Linked DNA regions of Homo sapiens: all the other regions are linked to region 1. The links are contacts of gene promoters, found by promoter capture Hi-C in blood cells and fetal thymus (Javierre and others, 2016). All regions are on one chromosome and are shown on one strand. Each heading gives the region's core, a stretch centred on a gene start or on the middle of the fragment in contact. The rest is flanking DNA. Distances are from core to core; before and after follow the strand shown.

Region 1 (3,004 bases), core at 393-2,892:
TCCATTGTCTCAAAATTGTTCCTGAAATATCCTGTTACCTGTCTACCTGATTTTCTCCTATCTTCAGAGTTCCATTTCCTGTCCTCCCGCCTGTCATTATACCTTCCATAAGCCCCTACTTTTGTCCCAGCACTTTTCCCTCTGTCAGTTTACATATCCCACCAAGCAAAACAAAAATAGCAAAACAGTAATGCCTTCTGAATCCTCAAATTGCTCAATCCTCAGATTGCTCCTCAATCTGGAAAATGTTTTATATCAAGCCCATTTATAAATCAAGGATTGGCAATTTAAAAAATTAAAATAAAGAAAGGAGAATTGGAAATAAAATGAATTGGCTGGGCACGGTGGCTCACGCCTGTAATCCCAGAACTTTGGGAGGCCGAGGTGGGTGGATCACTTGAGGTCAGGAGTTCGAGACCAGCCTGGCCAACATGGTGAAACCCTGCCTGTACTGAAAATACAAAAATTAGCTGGGTGCGGTGGCGCACACCTGTAATCCCAGATACTCAGGAGGCTGAGGCAGGAGAATCGCTTGAACCCAGGAGGCGGAGGTTGCAGTGAGCCGAGATCGTGCCACTACACTCCAGCCTGGGCAACAGAGCCAGACTCTGTCTCAAAAAAAAAAAAAAAGTTTAATTCACGCAGAGCCAGCTGAACGGCAGACAGGAGTTTGGTTATTCAAATCAGCCTACCAGAAAATTCGGAGACTGGGGTTTTTAAAGAATGACTTGGCGGGTAGGGGGCCAGGGATTGGCGAATGCTAATTTGTCAGGTGGGAGGTGAAATCACAGGGGGTTGAAGTGGGCTCTTGCTGTCTTCTGTTACTGAGTGGAATTGCAGAACTTGTTGAGCCAGATTATGGTCTGAGTGGCGCCAGCTAGTGCATCGGAATGCGCGGTCTGAAAAGTATCTCCAGCACCAATCTTAGGTTTTACAATAGTGATGTTATCCCTGAGAGCAATTGGGGAGGTCAGGAATCTTATAGCCTCTGGCTGCAAGCCTCCTAAATCATAATTTCTAATCTTGTGGCTAATTTGTTAGTTCTACAAAGGCAGACTGATCCCCAGGCAAGAATGGGGTTTGTTTTTGGAAAGGACTGTTACAATCTTTGTTTCAAAGTGAAATTAGAAATTAAATTCCTCCTGTAGTTAGTTAGGTCTTCGCCCAGGAATGAACAAGGGCAGCTCGGAAGTGAGAAGCGTGGAGTCATTTAGGTCAGATCCCTTGCACTGTCATAACTTTCTCACTGTTAGGATTTTTGCAAAGGCAGTTTCGTGAACGTACAGAGACAGGCCCTTGCTATTATCCCTATTTTTTAGATAAGGATATCCAGGCGATGAGGAAGTTTTACTTCTGGGAACAGCCTGGATACGAAACCTTCACACGTCAGTGTCTTTTGGACATTTTCTCGTCAGTACAGCCCTGTTGAATGTTCTCACGGTGGGGAGGTACGTGTTTAAAATGCGGGGAAGGTGCTTTTATTTCACCCCTGGTGAAACTAGGGGAGCTAATTTTTTTAAACATGATTTTTGGCCCCCTTGAACCGCCGGCCTGGACTACGTTTCCCAGCAGCCCGTGCTCAAGACTACGGGTGCCTGCAGGCGGTCAGCGTCGTTTGCGGCGGCGCAGGCGCGGTGCGGGCGGCGGACGGGCGGGCGCTTCGCCGTTTGAATGGCTGCGGGCCCGGGCCCTCACCTCACCTGAGGTCCGGCCGCCCAGGGGTGCGCTATGCCGTCGGGAGGTGACCAGTCGCCACCGCCCCCGCCTCCCCCTCCGGCGGCGGCAGCCTCGGATGAGGAGGAGGAGGACGACGGCGAGGCGGAAGACGCCGCGCCGCCTGCCGAGTCGCCCACCCCTCAGATCCAGCAGCGGTTCGACGAGCTGTGCAGCCGCCTCAACATGGACGAGGCGGCGCGGGCCGAGGCCTGGGACAGCTACCGCAGCATGAGCGAAAGCTACACGCTGGAGGTGCGCTCGCGGGCGGAGGGGCGCTTCCGGCCTAGTTGGCGTGAACCGGTGCCTTCCGAGCCGCGTCGCGCGCCTCGAGAGACTCTCGGGCGGGTTGCGGGCTCCCAGCCCCGAGAGGGGTGGGGACTTCCTCTGCGCTATTCCGAGGCTCTTAGCCGCTCCGAGGGCTAACCCGCTCTCGCCGCGCTTTCCTGCGGCTTCCGAATGGGGAACGCGTCTTGCCCTAAAGTAGCACAGCAAGGCTGAGATCGCGCTGGGGTCCCGTTGAGGAAAATGGGTGTGTGTGGCCCATCTGACCCCCCGCCCGCCTTGTTAGTAGAATGAACTAGTGTCGTTGTCAAGACCACACGGACAAGGGGAGGGGACTTGCCCTTATTTGCACCGCGATTAACCGGGTTGTGGCACCTGGGTCTCCAGGCGTCTCCGTCTGTTCGCTTCCCCCTGTTAACCAAATTGCCTTTGCCCTGGCGTTGCGGGCGTTTGAGTCAACGTGCTGATGCGTTTTGGGCTGTGTTTACGTCTGTGTAAACAAATTAATACTCATTTCCCCCCAGGCCAGATGAAATGAGCCCTCCGCCGACCCGGATGTAGACACATGCCCCCATTTGTCACTAGGATCAGGACTGTGGCTACCTCGAGGGCTTTTTGGTCACCCCGGGCATTGCACAGGACTCCTGTTGTTGTTGCGATCCGGGTGTGTTAGGTCGCAGCCTTCGGACAGGGCTTGCAGATGAGAAAAATGGCCATTCTAGCCAGTGAGTGTCAGCTTTGTATGCACCTCCCCTTCATGGGCCAATGGGAAGTGACACGGAAGTACGGATTGTTTATCAGCTGTTTGACTGTGTGTGTGGCATTTAAACCTGAGGCCATTTGATTTCTCAAGTCGTTTTATAATTAATTTGTAGAAAGAGTCGGGCAAATAGGTCCAGGATGCAAAGCCTAACCAAGGTATTATTTAAATATGATGTTTTTGGCTATGTGTACTGATGAGTGAGGTTATTTTTAATTTGTATTTGCATTAATAGAATTTTAATTC
Region 2 (3,024 bases), core at 16-2,515, 350 kb before region 1:
AGATGGTGTTTCACTATGTTGCCCAGGCTGGTAAGTGATCTGTTTATATTTGTCAAGTTTGTGAATGAATGAATGAATGAATGAATGAATGAATAAACCAATAACCTTGGATACTTTTCCTCTTTGAGCCTCAGTTTTCTCCTCTATAAAAACAATATTTAAAAAAGTCTAACACCTACTCTGCCTACCTCACCAGGTTAGTGTGTATGTGTGTGTGTGAGAGAGAGAGAAAGAGAAAGAACAAAATGTATGAATGTTCTTTGTCTCCTGCGCACTGGAATTTAAAAGTCACTTTGTCTCAGGCTCTGTGCTTTAACCTTGGTGTTGGTGTTCCATATCAGGAGGAAGGACTATTTTCCAGTGTCTGGTAAACACTTAGTTCTCCATCCTGTATTCTAAGTATCTTAAGGACAGGAGAACATTTTATTTATTTATTTATTTATTTATTTATTTATTTATTTATTTATTTATTCATGTATGTCAGCATCTTGCCCTGTCATCCATGCTGGAGTGCAGTGGCGTGATCTTGGCTCACTGCAGCCTCAACCTTCCCTGCTCAAGCCATCCTCCCACCTCAGCCTCCTGAGTAGCTGGGACTGCAGGCCTTTGCCGCCACACCCAACTAATTTTTATATTTCTTTGGGTAAAGACAGGGTTTCATCATGTTGCCCAGTCTTGTCTCAAACTCTTAGGCTCAGGTGATCTTCCCACCTCTGCCTCCTGAAGTGTTGGGATTACAGGCATGAGCCACTGCACCCAGCCTATTTTAAATGCTTTTAACCGATTGGTTTAAATTTGAGAACAAAGAATTTTAAGGTTCTCAGCCTCAGCTTATAGCCACTGCCCTGTTGGTCCCTTACTTGGCCCCAGAACCCTGGAAACCTTCCCAGGACAGAGCTTGCCTTACTTCCAACCACAGATCTTCATCAGGTGCAGGAGGAATTCGACCTTCAGATCTTTGCCCATGCACTTGGCTCTGCCTGAAGCATTCTCTTTGCTTTTTACCCGTCCAATTCCAGCACATCCTTCAGATCCCAGGTTAGACTCCCTTCTTCCAGGATACGTTCCCAGCTCCTCTCTGCCCTGTCAGGTAAGCTTCCTCCTCCATGCCCTCCCTCTTTGTGTCCTCTATCTGAGTGCTCACCCTGCTGAACTGTGGTTTCCCATCAGTCGTCTGCCTCCCTTTTAAACTGTGGCCCCCTGAGGACTATGATTGTGTCTTCCTTGTTCATTGATGTAACCTTGGTACATATCACAGTGCCAGGTACCAAGAGGATATTCTACAAATAGGCATTGATTAAGTGACTGGCAACAGTGTGTTGAGGAGATGGGAGAGAGGGTGACAAATCACAAAGGTCCCCATAGGAGGGTATTGTATTTCCTGAAGTATGAGAAACAACACTTCCACCAAAATGGCTTGCATAGCTAAGGATGCAAAGCTTTGGTGCATAACTTGCATAAACTAAGGATGCAAACACACCCCCAGACATTCCTGGACACACCCTACTGTAGGCAGTCATTCATTTAACACACTTGCCCTTGCTCTGAAATTTCTCCTCTTATCGTCTCCTTCCACTCATCTTTCTCATTTCCTGTATAAGGGAATTGCAAGACTAAAAGAATCTAACTGGCAGCAAAAAGATAATGCCAGAGAAAGAGATTATATTGCCACACCTTTGCTTAAGGTTTTTTCCCCTCTTTCTCTGCCTGTTAGATTTCTGCACCATTCCATTGTAAGGAAATTCTACTTATCTTTATTATGGACAATTCCTGAAGACACCTGAACTTTGAAAAATAGCTTAGTATGTGGTTCTGCCCACTCTTTGGAGTCCTGCCAAAGGTGTCTTTCAGCAAATAGCCCCCAACTCCGTGCCTCAGTTTCCCTCTTTTCTCTCACAGAGATGAGAAACAGAAGTTGTCCTTGAAACTTTTTTTTGAAAATAAAAGCGCCCCCACCCCCCGACTTCTTTGTTTTATTTTTAACAAAATAAAACCTGTCTCTCACTCTGTCACCCAGGCTGGAGTGCAGTGGCATGATCATAGCTCACTGTAGCCTTGAACTCATGGCCTCAAGCGATCCTCCCACCTCAGCTTGCCAAGTAGCTAGGACTACAAGTGTGCATCACTATGCCCAACTAATTTTTTTTTTTAATTGAGATAGGGTCTCACTTTGTTGCCCAGCCTGGGGTCTCAAACTCCTGGCTCAAATGATCCTCCCGCCTCAGCCTCTTAAAGTTCTGGGATTACAAGCGTGAGCCACCCGCACCCAGCCCTGACTAATTTTTGAATTTTTTTGTAGAGGTGAGGTCTCACTATGTTGCCCAGGCTGGTCTTGACTCCTGGTTTCAAGCAATCCTCTTGCCTTGGGCTCCCAAACTGCTGAGATTACAGGTGTGAGCCACCGCACCAGTAGAAGAGCTCCTTAAATATGCAGTTACTTGCTGGTCATGACCATGGAATGTGAAGGAAAGGAAGGTGTCACTTAATTCTTCTATGGGCAGGTGAATTTTAAGTTCTTAAGGTTGACTCAAATGTGGTCAGAGACTCAAGTGAAAACTTGCCCTACCCAAAGAAAGAGTCCTGAACTGGCCTTGAAGAGGAGGAGGATTTCTGAAGCAGTTTAGAGTGTTGTTGGTAAGGACCCAACTGGCAGCAGATACAGCATGATAAAATCACAGAAGCCTGGCAGGGTGCGGTGGCTCATGCCTATAATCCCAGCACTTTGGGAGGCCAAGGCGGGTGGATCATGAGGTCAGGAGATCGAAACGATCCTGGCCAATATGGTGAAACCCTGTATCTACTAAAATACAAAAAATTAGCCGGGCGTGGTGGTAGGCGCCTGTAGTCCCAGCTACTTGGGAGGCTGAGGCAGGAGAATGGCTTGAACCTGGGAGGCGGAGGTTGCAGTGAGCTGAGATCACGCCACTGCACTCCAGCCTGGCAACAGAGTGAGACTTCGTCTCAAAACAACAACAGCAACAACAAAATCACAATCACAGAAGCCGGAAAGTGTTTTCTGAGCCC
Region 3 (3,262 bases), core at 278-2,777, 330 kb before region 1:
TGATTCAACCCAAACAGTCTCACTCCAGAGTCTCTCTTCTGAACTGTGACACTCTATACCCACAATAAATATTTTTTTAATAGATTTAGGCCATGCATGGTGGCTCACACCTGTAATCTCAGCACTTTCAGAGGCCAGAGGTGGGAGAATCACTTGAGGCCAGTCTTCAAGACCAGCCTGGGTAACATAGCAAGACTCCATCTCTGCAAAAAAATAAAAAATTAGCCAGGCATGGTGGTGCATGCCTGTAGTCGTAGCTACTCAGGAGGCTGAGGCAGACGGATTGCTTGAGCCCAGGAGTTCAAGGCCACAGTAAGCTGTGATGGTGCCACTGAACTCCAGCCTGGGTGACAGAGTGAGACCCTGTCTCTTTCTTTTTTTGGGGGGACAGAGTCTTGCTCTGTCACTCAGGCTGGAGTGCATTGGCGCAGTCTCGGCTCACTGCAAACTCCGCCTCCCGGGTTCACGCCATTCTCCTGCCTCAGCCTCCTGAGTAGCTGGGACTACAGGCACCCGCCACCACCCCTGGCTAATTTTTTGTATTTTTAGTGGAGAAAGGGTTTCACCATGTTAGCCAGGATGGTCTCGATCTCCTGACCTCGTGATCCGCCCGCCTTGGCCTCCCAAAGTGCTGGGATTATAGGCATGAGCCACCCCACCTGGCCCTGACCCTGTCTCTTTAAAAAAAAAAAAAAAGGTAGATTTTATTTGTTTTTTTTTTCTTTTTCTTTAAAAAAGAGATGGGGTTTCATCATGTTGCCCAGGCTGGTCTCCAACTCCTGAGCTCAAGTGATCCTCCTGCCTCAGCCTCCCAAAGTGCTGGGATTACAGGTGTGAGCCACCATGCCCAGCTTAGCTTTTATTTTTAGAACACTTTTAGATTTGCAGAAGAATTGAGTAGATAGCACAGAGAGTTTGATGAATGAGCAAATCAGTGAATGGAGTATCCCTTGATGGAGACGCTGATTCTTTACCCAAGGCAGGTTAAAAGGGAACTCATCTTTGTGTGAGTTCTCTATGTGCCCAGCACTTTATATATGCTATTTACTTTATTCTTACAGCCAGCTTGTTAAATAGGGAGCGTTAACCTCATTTTGCAGTGAGCAAACTGAGGTTCTGAATGGCTAGAAGAATTGCCCTAAGTCCTCTAGCAGATGAGGGGGTAGAGCTAGAAAGTTCTTATCTATCTCATCCTAAAGATCACATTTGCTTTTTCCTCTGATTGAAAACTTCAAAGTTATCCTCAACAGGTATTTTGTTTTGTACATACCTAACATTGGTCTCTAGTGCCTTATAGTTTTTAAAATGCTTTTGTACCCCTCTTTACCTTTTGGTCATCACAACAGCACAGGAAGGTGAGTAAGGCAGCTTTTATGATTGCATTTCATAGAGGCAGCTACTCGGGCTTAAAACATTAAGCTTGTATATGAAAAGGGCTGAGGTACCTTCAGGACTGGAACACAAATATGTTGATTTCCTACTCCATGGCCTTCCCTTCTCGCCAAAGCATTCCTCTGTTATAAACGACTTCATTGCACAGGATTCTTGCTGGGCCTGCACAGGAAATACCTGGTTTGCTCTGGTCGTGGAGCTGCTCCTCTTCCCTGGAGTTGGCCAGGGGAATTTTTCTAAAATCTAAGCTTTGACTGCATTTAACTCCTTTCCTAAATGTTTGGAGGAAAAGGGTGAACTCTGACATTTTATTTTTTCCCCCTTGTATTTAACCAGCACAAAGATTTGGCCATTTTCAGTTAAAGAATGTTGTTTCCGATTATGGCACAGTTAGAAATTGCATTGCCAATGTTGGAAACCCATTTCATGATGGCAGCAGAGCAGAGATTTCCACTCTGCCCTTGGCTCTCAGGCCACTATTGATATACATTGGAAGCCAGCAAATTCTCTTGGGTACTTCTCCTTCCTTGACAGCCCCTAGCTGAAAGCACCCAACTCAACTCATCACCCTGGAGGAGAGATTCTTATTTTGTTAAATTATTTTTTTATTTTGAAAACAATTCAAACCTACAGAAACTGTATAAGAAAGTTACAATGGGCTAGGTGCAGTGGCTCGTGCCTGTAATTCCAGCACTTTGGGAGGCCAAGGCGGGCAGATCACTTGAGGTCAGGAGTTGAAGACCAACCTGGCCAACATGGTGAAACCCCATCTCTACTAAAAATACAAAAAATTAGCTGGGCATGGTGGCAGGTACCTGTAATCCCAGCTACTCGGGAGGCTGAGGCAGGAGAATTGCTTGAACCCAGGAGGCGGAGGTTGCAGTGAGCTGAGATCGTGCCACTGCACTCCAGCCCGGGTGACAGAATGAAACTCTGTCTCAAAAAAAAAAAAAAAAAGTTATAATGAACTTCTTTCTCGTATATTCTCCTAGTTGAAGGGCTTAATTTTAAAAAATCATTTAATGTAATTTTACTACCTTGAGCCCCGAACGCCTGGGCCCAAGCTGTCTTGCTGCCTCAGCCTCTCAAGTAGCTAAGACCATGACTGGCTAATTAAAAAAAAACAAAAAAACAAAAAAAACACAAAAAACTGTAGAGATGGAGGTCTCGCTAATTGCCCAGCCTGGTCTTGAACTATTGTCCTCGAGCAATCCTCCCACCTTGGCCTCCCAAAGTGCTGGGATTACAGACATGAGTCACCACGCGCAGCCTCTTTAAAATATTAAGTTTATTTATTTCAGTAGGAATTATATTTGTTTGATTCAAAATTCGAAAGGATATATAGTGAGGTGTCTCCCCCAAACCCTGTCCCCCCAGTATCCAGTGCATTTTCTAGAAGAAGCCAATAATTTCAGTTTCTTATGGGCCTTTCCAGAGATATTTCATATATATGTATGTAAATGTATATAAGCAAATACGGTTTTATGTGCGTATTTTTGTTTTGCCTTTTTTTTGTGGTAGCATACACTTATTCTACAACTTGATTTTCTCATTTGAAATTATTCTATTAGTAATTTATTTCAGTCTTCTCATTTTTTAAAAATGATTTTACTGTATTCCATTGTACGGGTATTCCATAATTTGGTCAACCAGTTCCCTAAGATGGTCACTTAGGTTGTTTCCAAACTTTTGCTAATATTAACAATACGCCAGTGAATAACCTTTTATGCATATTATTCCATAGGAGAGTTTTCAGCTTTTAAAAGAGCCTGGAATCAAAGTTATACTATGAGACTATGTCCAGGATATCATAAATTCAGGTGCTTTGGAGAAGAGTCATTCCTTGTCTCTACATTCCTTTGATCTGGGA
Region 4 (3,013 bases), core at 219-2,718, 310 kb after region 1:
GTCATAATCTTATTTTTTGAGGGAAAACATGCACATTTTACAGTAGGTTCTCCCCATCTGTTTCAATTCTTCATCTTGTAATGCTTCCTTTCAAATAGCTACATGATTACCTTCCAGTTTAGGGGCACTGAAAATGTTATCTCTGGCTCAGTTGACAGTTTTTATTGATGATCTGGTGGGAACCAGGTCTGTGGCTTTTTCAGCACATTTCAATGTCCCAATACCACACAAGAAGCTTTTCTCTCTCCCCTGCACACCCCAGATGAATACAACTTTACTGTATATTCTAATAATAAAATACATAACCATAAATTAAGACAAGGCTGAAAGGTTTAAAGAAGAAAGTAAAAGTCAACCTTAATTTTACTTTCCAAACAACATAATCACTCCGGACATTTTGGCCTGTAACAGGGGTCAGCAAACTATTGTCTGTGGGCCACATCTGGCCTGCCACTTGTTTTTTAATCGACCTTGAGCTGAGAATGGTATTTACATTTTTGAATAGTTGAAAAACATTAAAGTAACAGTAACATTTTGTCACATGAGAAAATTGATATGAAATTTAAAATTGTTTCCCCAAATAAAGTTTTATTGAAACATAGCCATGCTCATTCATTTACATATTATCTAGACTGCTTTCATGCTAAAATGGCAGGTTTAGTAGTTAGTTATAGGCCTTCAAAGCCTGACGTGTTCATTATTACTATCTGGACCTTTATAGAAAAAAAATCTGCTGACCCTTGGTCTATACCCTTCAAGACTTTTTCTGTGCATTTGCGTGTGTGTGTTTACATTTTGAAACAATGAGGTTATTCTATGTGCTTTTGTAATTTACCCTTTTTGCTGAATAGTGTTTACAAGTAACTTCTATTGCATTGTTTGTTTATTCCATTGGATTATAATCTGTGAACCACTCTGTTGCTCTTTTATTTGTATTGTACAAACCCATTAGATGTTACCTAGGAACAGTAATAATAATAGTAGTAGTAGTAGTACTTACTATATGAATTAAAATTGATTTTAATTGTTTAATGAAATAAAACTTTATTTTTTTCACATAATCTGAATCATGACCTAGGTAGTGGTCAAGCTGCCCAAGAAGGTCATTGAGGAACCAGGATCTTTCCAGTGTCCTCTTCTGCCATTCTCAGCATGCAATTTCATAGAGAGAGGGTGACTAAACTCTGTTATTGTTGTGTATCAAGTTACCACAAGTCTTAGCAATCTGAAACGACAAATATTAATTACCTTACAATTTCTATGGGTCATGAGTCCAGATACAGCTTAGCTAGTTGTCTCTGGCTCAGGGTCTCACAAAGCTGTTGGCTGGGAAATCGCTTATTTCAAGACTTGACTGGGGTGGAGGGGATCTGATTCCAAGCTCACTCATGTAGGTTTTGGGAAGTGACAGACCCATACTGGCTGTTGGCTGGAGAATCAATTCCTTGCCACGTTTCTGTCTCCATAGGGCAGCTCACAACATGTTTGTTAGTTTCTCCCAGAGTATCTGGGGAGAGTGGGGGGTAGGTTACAGACTTTTTGTAACCTACTCTGGGAAGTAATATTCCATAACTTCTGCGGTATTCTGTTTGTTAGAAGTGAATTTCTAGGTCCAGCCTATACTGAAGGGGAGGAATTCCAGGAGGGTGGGAATATCAGGAGGCAGGGATTATTGAGGGTCTTCTTGGAGGCTGCTTTACTATGTGGTTTCATTTAAATGTGGTGGGTAGACCTTCAGGCATTGGCCTGGCAGGAAGGGTCAATACCAGCCCTTCCAGTTTTTCAATTAGAACTATGCCATATGGCCACCCCTAGCTGCAAGAAAGTCTGGGAAGGCAAGTTTTTTTTGGTGACACATTGTTGCCCAGGTCAAAATCAGGATTTTGTTGATAAGAAAAATTTCGATAATAGACACTGGGTGGACAACAGAAGGTATCTACTATCCCTGCCTTCTAAGGTGGTTATAAAGGTTCAGTGAGGCAATCCAGCACTGGTCTGGCTTATAATATTCACTCAGTTAAACAGGAGCTATGATTATTGCTGTTACTTAAAATCACATAATATAGCTTTGTAAATTAGCTTGTGACAAAACAGGATCCCTATGTGTTGATACTAAAAGAAGTAGCATAAAAGGAAGAAAAAAATACATTGATTGGGTGCATAGTATGTACCAGGCATTTTATTTACATGCAGTATCTGAGTTAATCTTCATCATAAACCTAACTGGGTATTGTTTGCCACACTTTATAGATAAAGAAAAGAAAGCCCAATAAGATTAACTAGGTTGTTGAAGGAGCGCTTTCCACTAGTGTGCCTTGAGTGGGTTATAGTTTGTGGAGATATTGGTTCCTTTAGTTCTTGGAATGGGCAGATGGGGACAGGGGTAACTGGAGCCCCTGGTCTCTTCATCTCTAACTCTGGGCAGCCTCTTCTGATTACTCCAGTGTGCCTTAAAAAATATAATTTTCTGCACACTCCATGATGTGGAAAAGGTTAGAGTGTATAACTCTATCCATGAGTAAGTGAATCCAGGTATGTATAATTCCAGCTGCCTGTCTCCTTTCCACTGTCAGGCTCTCAACAATCTATAGAAGCCTTGAATTTTCGTTAGCCTAAAATTTGAAATGCCCCTTCATTTGCTACAAAAATATTATATTTCTACATTTTCTTGGATTATAAAGTGATTTAAGTTAACATGATTTGAAGCTTCACTGTGGTCGGAATGAAAGCTTGCTTGGCCACTAGGTGGCTCCTTTTGGTTCTTTCTCCCAGTCGATGGTTGTGGCTTTGTCCTGTGCCACCTCTTAGAAGGAACCTAAATTGGACATAAGGAAGCCTAGACAACAAGGAGATCTGAAATGAATGGGACATGCACTCTGATGATTGCAGTTACCTTTTCATCCTTTACTTTCCACTCCTGTTCCTCCTGTGCTCATACGCTGATGTTTAGGTAACAGATCTAGTCCCTGGAGCCTCAGATGAGTCTTTGATATCTCTTTCTCACTTATAAAAG
Region 5 (3,087 bases), core at 434-2,933, 480 kb after region 1:
GAGGCAGGAGAATTGCTGGAACCCTGGGGGCGGAGGCTGCTGTGAGCCGAGACCACACCACTGCACTCCGGCTTGGGCGGCAGAGTGAGGCTCTGTCTCAAAAAAAGAAAAAAAAAAAAAAAAGCTGGTCATAGGCCCTGGCCACAGTCCCTCGGCCTTCTCGCATTGTCCTGCCCCAGTGGAGGACAGCGTCTTCTCACGATCACTTCCCAGGGACTCTCTTATTTGTGGAAGAGTTTCAGAGCCTTTTGCTGACTCGAAGAAGATCAAAAGACAGGAAGACAGTGGTTTGCCTCAGCTTGGACTTTAGCATTTCTGTTTCTTTTAAAACCATCTCCTGTGATGTCTTAGAAGAAATACTTCTTCTTTCTTTCTTTTTTCTTTTTTTTTTTGTCCTGTTTCAAATTCTGTTTCGGAGTTCTCAGTGCTTTCTCTTTCACACATTGGAAATAAATGACTGCATTTTTGTTGAAATAATTTTTTTTTTGCAGATAAATAATTGTTTAACAGAATAGAAACTTTTCTTCAGTAACGTCTTTTTTTGGAAAGTAAGTTACAAGATTTTGCTTTAAAAATACAAACTATTTTTAAAGAATTGTACTCTCTAAAGTCAAACATTCCTGCCTCCTGTCAAGTCCCTATAAGATCTGGTCTGTGGCAACTTCTCAGGGTGGTCAGATAGCAAGAGGAGGACAGATTGGGAAGGCAAAATGGCTTTAAGGGTAAACCCCACAGCGTAAAATCTCATTACTGGAAAAGCGCTTTGTGTTTAAGGATAGGTATTCCCGTGTGGAAGGACGGCCATGGCGAATGCTTAAGGGACTCACTAAAATATCTTAAATTGTCTCCGTTAAACATGTAGCATCCTTAGAGGTCAGACAGAGCTGAAACTTGAACAGCTGTACAACAAGCATCTGAGATTGTTTTTAATTGTGTTTCCTTTCTCTAACAGCAGTAATTCTTGTTTATATTGTCAAGAACCTTTCCACTGAGCACAAGCGCACCATACTTGAAGGTCAAATGCTTAACCCTTCTGCATGGTTACAATGAAAATGGACCCTTTTGTTTTCATTAATGTATACCCCAGCCATGTCTACAGGGAGAATGGGGGCCCCAAGCGTTCACCAAGCTGAAGCAACTTATTGTAAAAGAGCCACAAAGAGAGCATATTTTTGTTTCCATACAACAGTTGTTTAGCTTTTGCCTTGTGCACCCAACCATAAGACGGTATGCTTACTTATCAATGGGCAGAATTTTGGGGGACCATTTTGTTCCTTTGACCTGTGTTACTTTTTACTGACCCAACCAAATTGCTTAAAAATTTTCCCTTTCTGCTGTCAGTGTTTAAAGCTGCTTAATGTCTCTGAAGTGATCCCTTCTTTCTTTTTAACACTTTACATTCCTGTTTATCACAGCACCTGTTACTATAGTGAACCATGAAATCACAAATGCTATGCAGCTCTTATTGACCAATAATACTTTATTAAATATAAATAGAGTATCCTCCCAGCTTCTGTATGGTGTATAAAGGTCTCAGTATATGAAGACAAATGCACATATGTCCATAGGTGCACATGTATTGTTTGGTGGGCAACAATCGGGAAAGGAGGATGTTTTATTTATTTGTCAGGCAAGAAATGTTTCTTTTTCTGCTCCTTAAGAGTTAACCAAAACTAAAGGGGCCAGTTCAGCAAACACTAAATGTGAGCCTCCAACATGAAGGCATCTTTGTTACTGAAACAAAAATACCACAGCAGGTGGTAGACTCGAACACAGGAGGGAGGAGGAGGTTCAGTTGTTGCCCATTTTTCTAATCCTTTCAGAATACCCATTGTCTGAACCCCAAAGTTAACATGTTCCTGCTCAGTCTCATGGAGACAATTTCAGCGTGAAAGGGCTGTGCCCATCACTGGTTTTCGACAACAGTTTAATCTTTGGGTATGGAATGTGTAACCACTCAACAAGGCAGGAGAGGCAATTGTCTGTCTGAGATGAGCCAATAATATCTGCTTATCAAAGCATAAAACTATTCTGGATGTGGCAAGTCAGAGTTAAGTAGGAATTCATGCCAACCGCAGCAGTAGTTTGCAGGTTTTAGACTGTATTAATCAAGACAGAAACATGACTTTTGTTGTCCTTGGGGCAGCTCAAAGCAACTTTGTGGCAACCACACTGGCTTTCTAAAGCTAAGGCTAAACTCTGCACAGTCTGCATCTATTTATATCAAGGTGCTTCAGTGGGGATATAGCTTTTAAAATGGATTCATAATTGAAGTTGGAATATTGTTTTCATTCCCTAAAACTGAATGAAATGTAGTTTATAACTCTGGACCTCAGAGTGCCCTACCTAAGTGGGAGGCATTAAAAGATGAGTTAAGGGGCAAAGGCGGGCTAGCAGACTGATGCCTATTACTGCTTATGATGAAGGGTACCACTATCCGGTTCATATGCTTGGGTCTCTCTGTGTTCTCATTGAGCCATCCACAATCGTTTCTTTTATTCTAAATCACCGTTGGAATGATATAAGAAAATGAATGCAGTATAATGAGAATTAAAAAAATAAATTTGTAAGAAGTATAGAGTTGGAAATCTTGTTCCTATAAACGTAAGACACAAATTCTAATGAGCTTATAGATGGTCCGTAAATCACGTTTTGCTCATGTGAACATTGAACATTGGGTATTCTTTCCTAACCAGAGAGAAGCTACGATTCTGCTGCCTATGCCACACTTTAGATGGAATGATGGCCTCTTTTAGTGGCACTAAATGTATACACAGAGCACTAAACATATACACAGAGCAGTATCTGCAAACTTAAGGACTTGTGTGATCTTCTGGATAATACTAGCACTCAGAAGTTAACATTTCATCTGACGCATTCCTTTCATATGTAGTATTCATAAATGTGAAAATAGCCTTAAATCATTATTTTCACCCTTGACCTGGGACACTATAGCTAGGGAGAATCTCTGGGATATCTGGAGGGGAGCTAAGGCTCATCAACTATTTGGTGGTTGTCTTTCTGAGTTTAAAAAATGATGCTGTTTACTGTGACCTCAGGTGTCTGTCTGTGTGTCCAAGTGAGACT
Region 6 (2,999 bases), core at 267-2,766, 290 kb after region 1:
TTAAATTATAACTTTGTACATTCTTGTCTTCTCTTTAAAAATTGACTATATTTGCTGGTAGTCTGTTTTTTTTTTTTTTTTTTAAACAAGCTCTTGAATTTGTTTATGCTCTAATTCATTAATTTCTACCTTTGTTTTTATTGTTTTCTTTGTCCTGCATTGCCTAAGCTTCTTTTGGCAACATCTTGAGATGAATGCTTACTTATTCATTTTTATTCTTTTTTGTTTAATATGGAAAGTATTTCAAAATCTTAAAATAGTTTTATCTTTTTGGTTTCTGTAGCAATTTGTGCATGTTTTTGTAGCACTTATTCAGTATTCTAATGATTTTTTTCATTTTCTTTCTCATACCTTAGTTATATAGACTATACTTTATTTTTCTTTGTACCCCAATGTCCGCAGAGTCTTGAACACAATAGGTACTGAACTAATGTTTCCTAAATGAATACCCTGAATTCCCCCATTCCCCTTTCACTCCACACAAATAGTAAGTAGCCTGCTATAGTTAGTGGAAGTTTAGCTCTCCAACTACCAGTGCACATCACTGGTGGTTGGAGGGCTAAACTTGTAGTCTCACATTCCAACTACCAGTGCACATCACTAGTAGTTGGAAGGCTAAACTTGGAGTTTCACATATGCCACTTACTACGTATTACCTTGTATGAGTCCTCCAATCTCTGTGATGTTTCATCTGTAAAATGGGGATAATAACTCCCTTCCCTGCTTCATCTGAGATGTCATCAATAAGATAATAAATGTAAAAGAACTTTGAATACTAACAATGTTATGTAGATATAAATATGATTTAAAATAGGTTTTTAGCATTCTTATCTCATCCACCACTTCTCCCCCTCCCCACCATGTAGAAATTATCAAGTTCTTAGGAACAGAAACTTATTTTGAAATAGACAATATTGTACATATTCATGGAGTACATAGTGATGTTTTGATACATATCGTGTATAGTGATAAGATCAGGATAATTAGCATTTTAATCATCTCAAACATTTATTATTTCTTTGTATTAGGAACACAGAAACTTAAAAAGATATATATATATCTTTTATATATATAAAATATATATATATCTTTTATATATATATAAAAGATATATATATATCTGTGTCTTCCGAAGTATCTAGCACAGAACTTTGTTGACAGATATACAGTAAATATTTGTTGACTGGATGTTTTCTGAGATGTACTTTTCTTTTTCTTTTTCTTTTTTTCTTTGAGACAGAGTCCTGGGTCCTGCTCTGTCACCCAGGCTGGAGTACAGTGGCACAGTCATAACTTACTGCAGCCTCGACCTCCTAGGCTCAAGCAGTCCTCCCACCCCAGGCTCCTCAGTAGCTGAGACTACAGGTTTGTGCCACCAAGCCTGGCTAATTTTTGTACATTTTGTAGAGACTGGGTCTCACTATGTTGCTCAGGCTGGTTTCAAACCCTTGGGCTCAAGCTATCTGCCTGCCTTGGTCTCCCAAAGTCCTAGGATTACAGGTATGAGCCACTGCACCTGGCCTGAGACCTACTTTTCAAACATGAAGTACTAAGTGATCCTCAATTGGACCAAGACTTAGGAGCCCTGCCCCAATCACGTTGCTTCTCCCAGTTTACTCGGGGTGACCTAGACAGCTACATCAACACACAGTCTGGTGAAATGCACATGCGTAACTTGAGGATGTCAACCTTTTGGCACAGTCTCATTTCCTCTGCAGAAGAGCGGCTAGAGACATTATACTCTGTTCCCGAAGTATATAGACTAATAAAATAGTGGAGTTGATTTAGATTGATAACAAATTATAAAATTGATAAAAAATATTTTCTATTTTTATACCATTTAGAACAGCTATTAATATTTTTAAAATTTTTTTCTCAATTGGATGAAAAATAAATGTATGATTATTCCTTCCCTTTCAATTGCAGTTACATTACATTTTCATTGTTTCTCTTGCACTGAGATTTATTTTTTATTTTTAGTTTATTTTGTTCATTGCTATGGAAGGGTGATAATTGTATCAAGTAAGTCTCTTTTACTTACCTGAGAGTTCCCATGTTCTTTGGGGAAATAAATGTCATCATATAAGTCAGTCTTAGGTTAACAGGTTGTTTTAAAATTGCTAACCACTATCCAAATGCAGAGTGATAGTATTTTCTGGGTAGGTATTTCATACTCTCTTTTCGAATATTGGTCACCGAAGGATTTCACAAACCACTGACATTTCAGCATTATGACAGTGCAATGTGCTCCTGTCACCCTCTGACCCCATATTTTTTTTAAACCATTCATTTCAATCGGAAAAAGTATAATTTTTTGAAAAAACAGAGATACTTACCCTTTGCGCTGCTTTTAAAGATTACTGGGAGACTTCATATCTCAGATAATTGATGGTAAATTCTGCTTGGTTGTTTATAAGCTCAAACTTTGGAGATCTACAAAAAGAGTTTCATCTGAGAAATAAAAACTATTTTAATGATTGTATGATCCACCAGACTGTGAGGTCTTTTCTTCAGTCCCTCCTCTTTCATGAAGCGTTTGAGGATTATTCCATTCATCTCTTTCCTTACCGACTTTATTTCCTGTGTCAAAAAGTATGATACTAACGGTAAGTTTGTGTATGGTACATTTACTGGTGTATGGTACCGTATGTGGTTGACGTTAGGTCATATTAAATTTTACATTTTGAGATTGCTTATACATAGTAGTGTTTTATACACAGTAATTCTCTTTTCCCTATGGGGATTATAAGATCCCTCTGGCTGACAACACTGCTATAAATTTGTTTTTTGTGTCTAGTAAGATGCTACAAATGTGGTTGACTCTCAGCATTTCTTGTCAAATGGAAACATGTATAGATTGGAAGTTAAGCTTTTTGTTTTTTGTTTTTTTTTACTTTACTGAACAGTTATTTAACCTTAACTCTTAATCTGCTCTCCATCACCAGTAGAAAATATTTTGTTTAGAAAATGTTTTGTGTAGGCTAGGTGTGGTGACTCAC
Region 7 (3,316 bases), core at 732-3,231, 300 kb before region 1:
TTTTTCCAGTTCTTAAAATCTCCAGTTCTACTTAACCAGCTATGATCTTAAACGAAAAGAAGGCTTATCTTGTGTAATGTTACCCATTCCCTAGACTCTAGATAACTGTAGAAGTAGTTTTAAAAGAACCACTAGGTCTGCAAACACTTGAATATACAAAAGCTGAACTTAAAGGAGGATTCTGCATTGCAGAGGGAGGAGTTTGTTTTTGTTTTTTGCAATGCAAAAGGATGATCATAGTGTTTCTTTTCCCTTGGGTTTACAGAACGTGAATTTAGAGATGCTGTGTTGTAACAACAGGCCACATGGAGCCTTACGTTCGATATTTGATAAGTATTAAATAAAAGACTTCTATTGCTCGAAGCAAGTTCTGTCTGTATTATGTATCTTCGAAGACTTTCCATTTCTTCTAATTCTGCTTTTTTTTTTTTTTTTTTTTTTTTTTTGGTGTTGAGACGGAGTCTCGCTCTGTCACCCAGGCTGGAGCGCAGTGACGCCATCTCGGCTCACTGCAACCTCTTCCTCCCAGGTTCAAGCAGTTCTCCAACCTCAGCCTCCCCAGTAGCTGGGATTACAGGTGCGCGCCACCACGCCCGGCCGTTTCTTCTATTGCTTTAAAAATTCACGTTATGTAGTTATAGTTTACCACAAAGTATTGGCAGGTCTCTGTCCTTGGAGAGTTTCCTATAAACTATAGACCATATAATGTAGACGTGAAGTCTGTATTACAGACCTGAAGTGCATTGGGAAAAGTGGTTGCCTCCCAGTTTTGATTAAGGGTAACTGTCATTCCTGAACAGTTTCAGGTAAGTATGTATAGTATTGCAGTTAAAAACAGCAACAACAAAAAACCCTTGTGATTAATTGACCAGGAGATGATATCCTAAAGGCACAGGAAATAACATCAGATAAAAGCAATGCTAGTCAAAAACATACTAAGTAAGGTGTATGAGCAGGCTACTTTAATCGGGGGCGGCTCTTAATAGGGAGGCTGAGGCAGGAGAATCACTTGAGCCAAGAGTTCAAGTCCAGCCTGGGCAACTTATTAAGACTGCATCCCGTCTCTATTAAGAAAAAAAAAATTATGATGCTTTTATAACCAGTAAAATCCTCTTCTTGGATAGAGTGCTGGCTAGAGAGAATCGGGACTTTGTCACTTAACTGTGTAGATAATATTAAGTTTCTTGACATCCGTGAGCCTTAGTTTCCTCCTGTGTAAAACTTTGTTTCCTCCAGTTTTACTATTGTAGGATTCTAAGTACCCTATGAGGTCTATCCTCTGAAATCAAAAACTTATGGGGTGGGCAGATATGAATACAGATAGAAAACGGTGTCCATGGAAAAAGCCCGTGACAAGATAAGATTAAGGAAACCATAGAATTTTCAACTTGGAAGTATCTTTAGAAACTTTAATTACAAACTTCTTATCTAATGCAACCGAATGCTTTCTACAAGGCACTGTGCTAGACCTTCCTGGTTTACCTCTGGAAACAGGATAGAGCTGAAGGAGGGGCTCGATATATGAATATAAGAGGCAAGAACTGAAGTAGAAATACAGATTTTAAAGTAAAATCTATTGCATCTATCAATAGTAAAACAAAATTTTGGTACATATGAAAAGTTAAGATTTTCTAAAGATGTGTTTATTGATCGAAATGTCATAGAAAAAAAAGCTTACCTCCGTAAATAACAGAGAAGAAAAATGAAATCCTAGAGAGTCTATAAAGAAAAACTATGAATTAATCTACTGGGGAAATTTCATCGGGTAATGAGTGAATAAAAAACACAGGTAAGAATATGGAAACTTGAGGCAGTTGGTCAGAGTAAAAACTAATGGAAGCATGTTGTAAGTGCTTGGAAAACTTCAGAAGCCAAAGATTGGAGTCAGAAGAGATTTATGGATACTGATGAGATAGAGTTATTTTAACCTTTCAAATTCTTTGAAGTTGTCTTAACGTGGGATATAGATTTCTTATATAAGATTTAGCTTTTTTACACTTATTTACGTTGTAAATTTAAAGTGCCACATTCCAGTTTTATAACTGTTCCCTAGCACTTTGTGCCTCTGTTTACTTCCTTATTTGGGCTTCACTCCCTTACTTTTCCACCTCTTGGAATTTTACCAGTCTGTGAATACTCAGGTCAAATTCCACCTTGTGAATAAAATCGTATCTTGTCCTTGTAGCCCTTAGGGATTTCTCCTTCCCATGAGATCTTAGTATAATTATTTGTTGCACTTATTTGGCATACCATGTACAACTTCCTGACATTTCCTCTACTGTATTGTCTTTAAGCTTTCAGAAACAATTTTTATTCCTTTCTTTTAGAAACAGTTGGAAAGCTGATCAAGTGACAATGGGAGACCCAAAGAAGGGGAAACCACTTTGAACTGTAATTTATTCTCTGGACTCAAAGTCATTCACATCCATTTATTCATTAAATGTATATATTATGAAGTGCTCCCTTAATTTATGATATATGTATTAAGTGCATAATAAGTGATCCCTGCCTTCATGGAACCTACCATCTAACAGTGCAAACAGATAAAGAACAAGTAAATAAACAAATGGAAAATTACAACTTATGATCAGTTCAGTGAAATAAAAGAACAGAGTGCTATGGTGGAGAAAATGGGGAGAAATTAATGTTGTATTCTCAGAGAAGGCTTCCCTCAGTTGGTGATTCTAAGTGGAAACAGAATAAGAAGACAGGTCAGGAGAGAAAAGAGTTTCTTGGAAGAGAGAAAAATATGTTTGAAGGCTATGACACAGGAAAGAACTTAATATTTGAAAGAAATGAAAAGTTCAGGATGGCAGAAGCATAATAAGGCAGAAAACCATATGAGCTGAAATGAGAGATAGAAAGCAGATTATACAGGGCCTTGTGGGGCATATTAAAGACTTACAGGTTTTACTAAAGACATTGCAGTCGTTGAAGATTTTGAATTAGAGAAGTGATACGCTTTAATCTACATTTTAAAAATGCTACTTTGAGAATGGATTGGAGAAAGGCAAGGGTGAAAGTAAAGATATTGTAATACTACAGTAGTCCAGGAAAAACATGATGGTAGCCAGATTATACATATATTTTAGAGAGGAGATGGTGAGGTGTGGAGGAGGAACAACTGACAGATTCATGATGGATTGGATGTGAGAAGAAAAGTGTCAAAAATGATTTCCTGGTTCCTGGCTTGAGAAACTAGATAGATAGTGGTGTGTGATTTACTGAGATGAAGAAGATGAGGGAAAGGAAAGATTTGGCAAGAAAACAAGTTTTGAACACCATCCCTGGACAAGTGCTTCAGAAGAAGTCTACC

The links. The method cuts DNA at HindIII sites, captures the fragments that hold promoters and counts their contacts. A CHiCAGO score of 5 or more calls a contact.
Region 2: a fragment that was not itself captured here is called in contact with the fragment with the promoter of RBL2 in region 1 in 3 of 17 cell types (neutrophils, total CD8 T cells and fetal thymus); the score reaches 10.4 in neutrophils.
Region 3: a contact is called between a fragment that was not itself captured here and the fragment with the promoter of RBL2 in region 1, in 8 of 17 cell types (neutrophils, total CD4 T cells, non-activated CD4 T cells and 5 more). The highest score is 8.2, in neutrophils.
Region 4: a contact is called between a fragment that was not itself captured here and the fragment with the promoter of RBL2 in region 1, in 1 of 17 cell types (non-activated CD4 T cells). The highest score is 5.0, in non-activated CD4 T cells.
Region 5: a fragment that was not itself captured here is called in contact with the fragment with the promoter of RBL2 in region 1 in 2 of 17 cell types (naive CD8 T cells and total CD4 T cells); the score reaches 6.1 in naive CD8 T cells.
Region 6: a contact is called between a fragment that was not itself captured here and the fragment with the promoter of RBL2 in region 1, in 2 of 17 cell types (total CD4 T cells and total CD8 T cells). The highest score is 8.4, in total CD4 T cells.
Region 7: a contact is called between a fragment that was not itself captured here and the fragment with the promoter of RBL2 in region 1, in 12 of 17 cell types (neutrophils, naive CD4 T cells, naive CD8 T cells and 9 more). The highest score is 25.7, in neutrophils.

The regions. Positions count from the first base shown.
Region 1 is chr16:53,432,829-53,435,832 of GRCh38, forward strand. RBL2 (RB transcriptional corepressor like 2) reads left to right here and starts at 1,643. Exons shown (of 22, transcript NM_005611.4): 1 at 1,643-1,968. The coding sequence starts at 1,729. RefSeq lists a silencer at 1,698-1,917 and an enhancer at 2,528-2,637. The HindIII fragment of the contact is 5,814 bases long and covers 1-3,004 here.
Region 2 is chr16:53,081,779-53,084,802 of GRCh38, forward strand. The region is part of intron 1 of CHD9 (chromodomain helicase DNA binding protein 9); the gene reads left to right. Among named protein-coding and RNA genes, the nearest start is that of CHD9, 28 kb to the left of the region's middle. The HindIII fragment of the contact is 344 bases long and covers 1,094-1,437 here.
Region 3 is chr16:53,102,480-53,105,741 of GRCh38, forward strand. The region is part of intron 1 of CHD9 (chromodomain helicase DNA binding protein 9); the gene reads left to right. Among named protein-coding and RNA genes, the nearest start is that of CHD9, 49 kb to the left of the region's middle. The HindIII fragment of the contact is 221 bases long and covers 1,418-1,638 here.
Region 4 is chr16:53,740,528-53,743,540 of GRCh38, forward strand. The region is part of intron 1 of FTO (FTO alpha-ketoglutarate dependent dioxygenase); the gene reads left to right. LOC124903691 (a long non-coding RNA gene) reads right to left here. Exons shown (of 3, transcript XR_007065070.1): 3 at 1,025-1,225. Among named protein-coding and RNA genes, the nearest start is that of FTO, 38 kb to the left of the region's middle. The HindIII fragment of the contact is 2,471 bases long and covers 234-2,704 here.
Region 5 is chr16:53,913,880-53,916,966 of GRCh38, forward strand. The region is part of intron 7 of FTO (FTO alpha-ketoglutarate dependent dioxygenase); the gene reads left to right. Among named protein-coding and RNA genes, the nearest start is that of FTO-IT1, 120 kb to the right of the region's middle. RefSeq lists an enhancer at 410-2,055. The HindIII fragment of the contact is 6,118 bases long and covers 1-3,087 here.
Region 6 is chr16:53,719,568-53,722,566 of GRCh38, forward strand. All of the region lies in intron 1 of FTO (FTO alpha-ketoglutarate dependent dioxygenase), which reads left to right. Among named protein-coding and RNA genes, the nearest start is that of FTO, 17 kb to the left of the region's middle. The HindIII fragment of the contact is 2,701 bases long and covers 167-2,867 here.
Region 7 is chr16:53,132,375-53,135,690 of GRCh38, forward strand. The region is part of intron 1 of CHD9 (chromodomain helicase DNA binding protein 9); the gene reads left to right. Among named protein-coding and RNA genes, the nearest start is that of CHD9, 79 kb to the left of the region's middle. The HindIII fragment of the contact is 621 bases long and covers 1,672-2,292 here.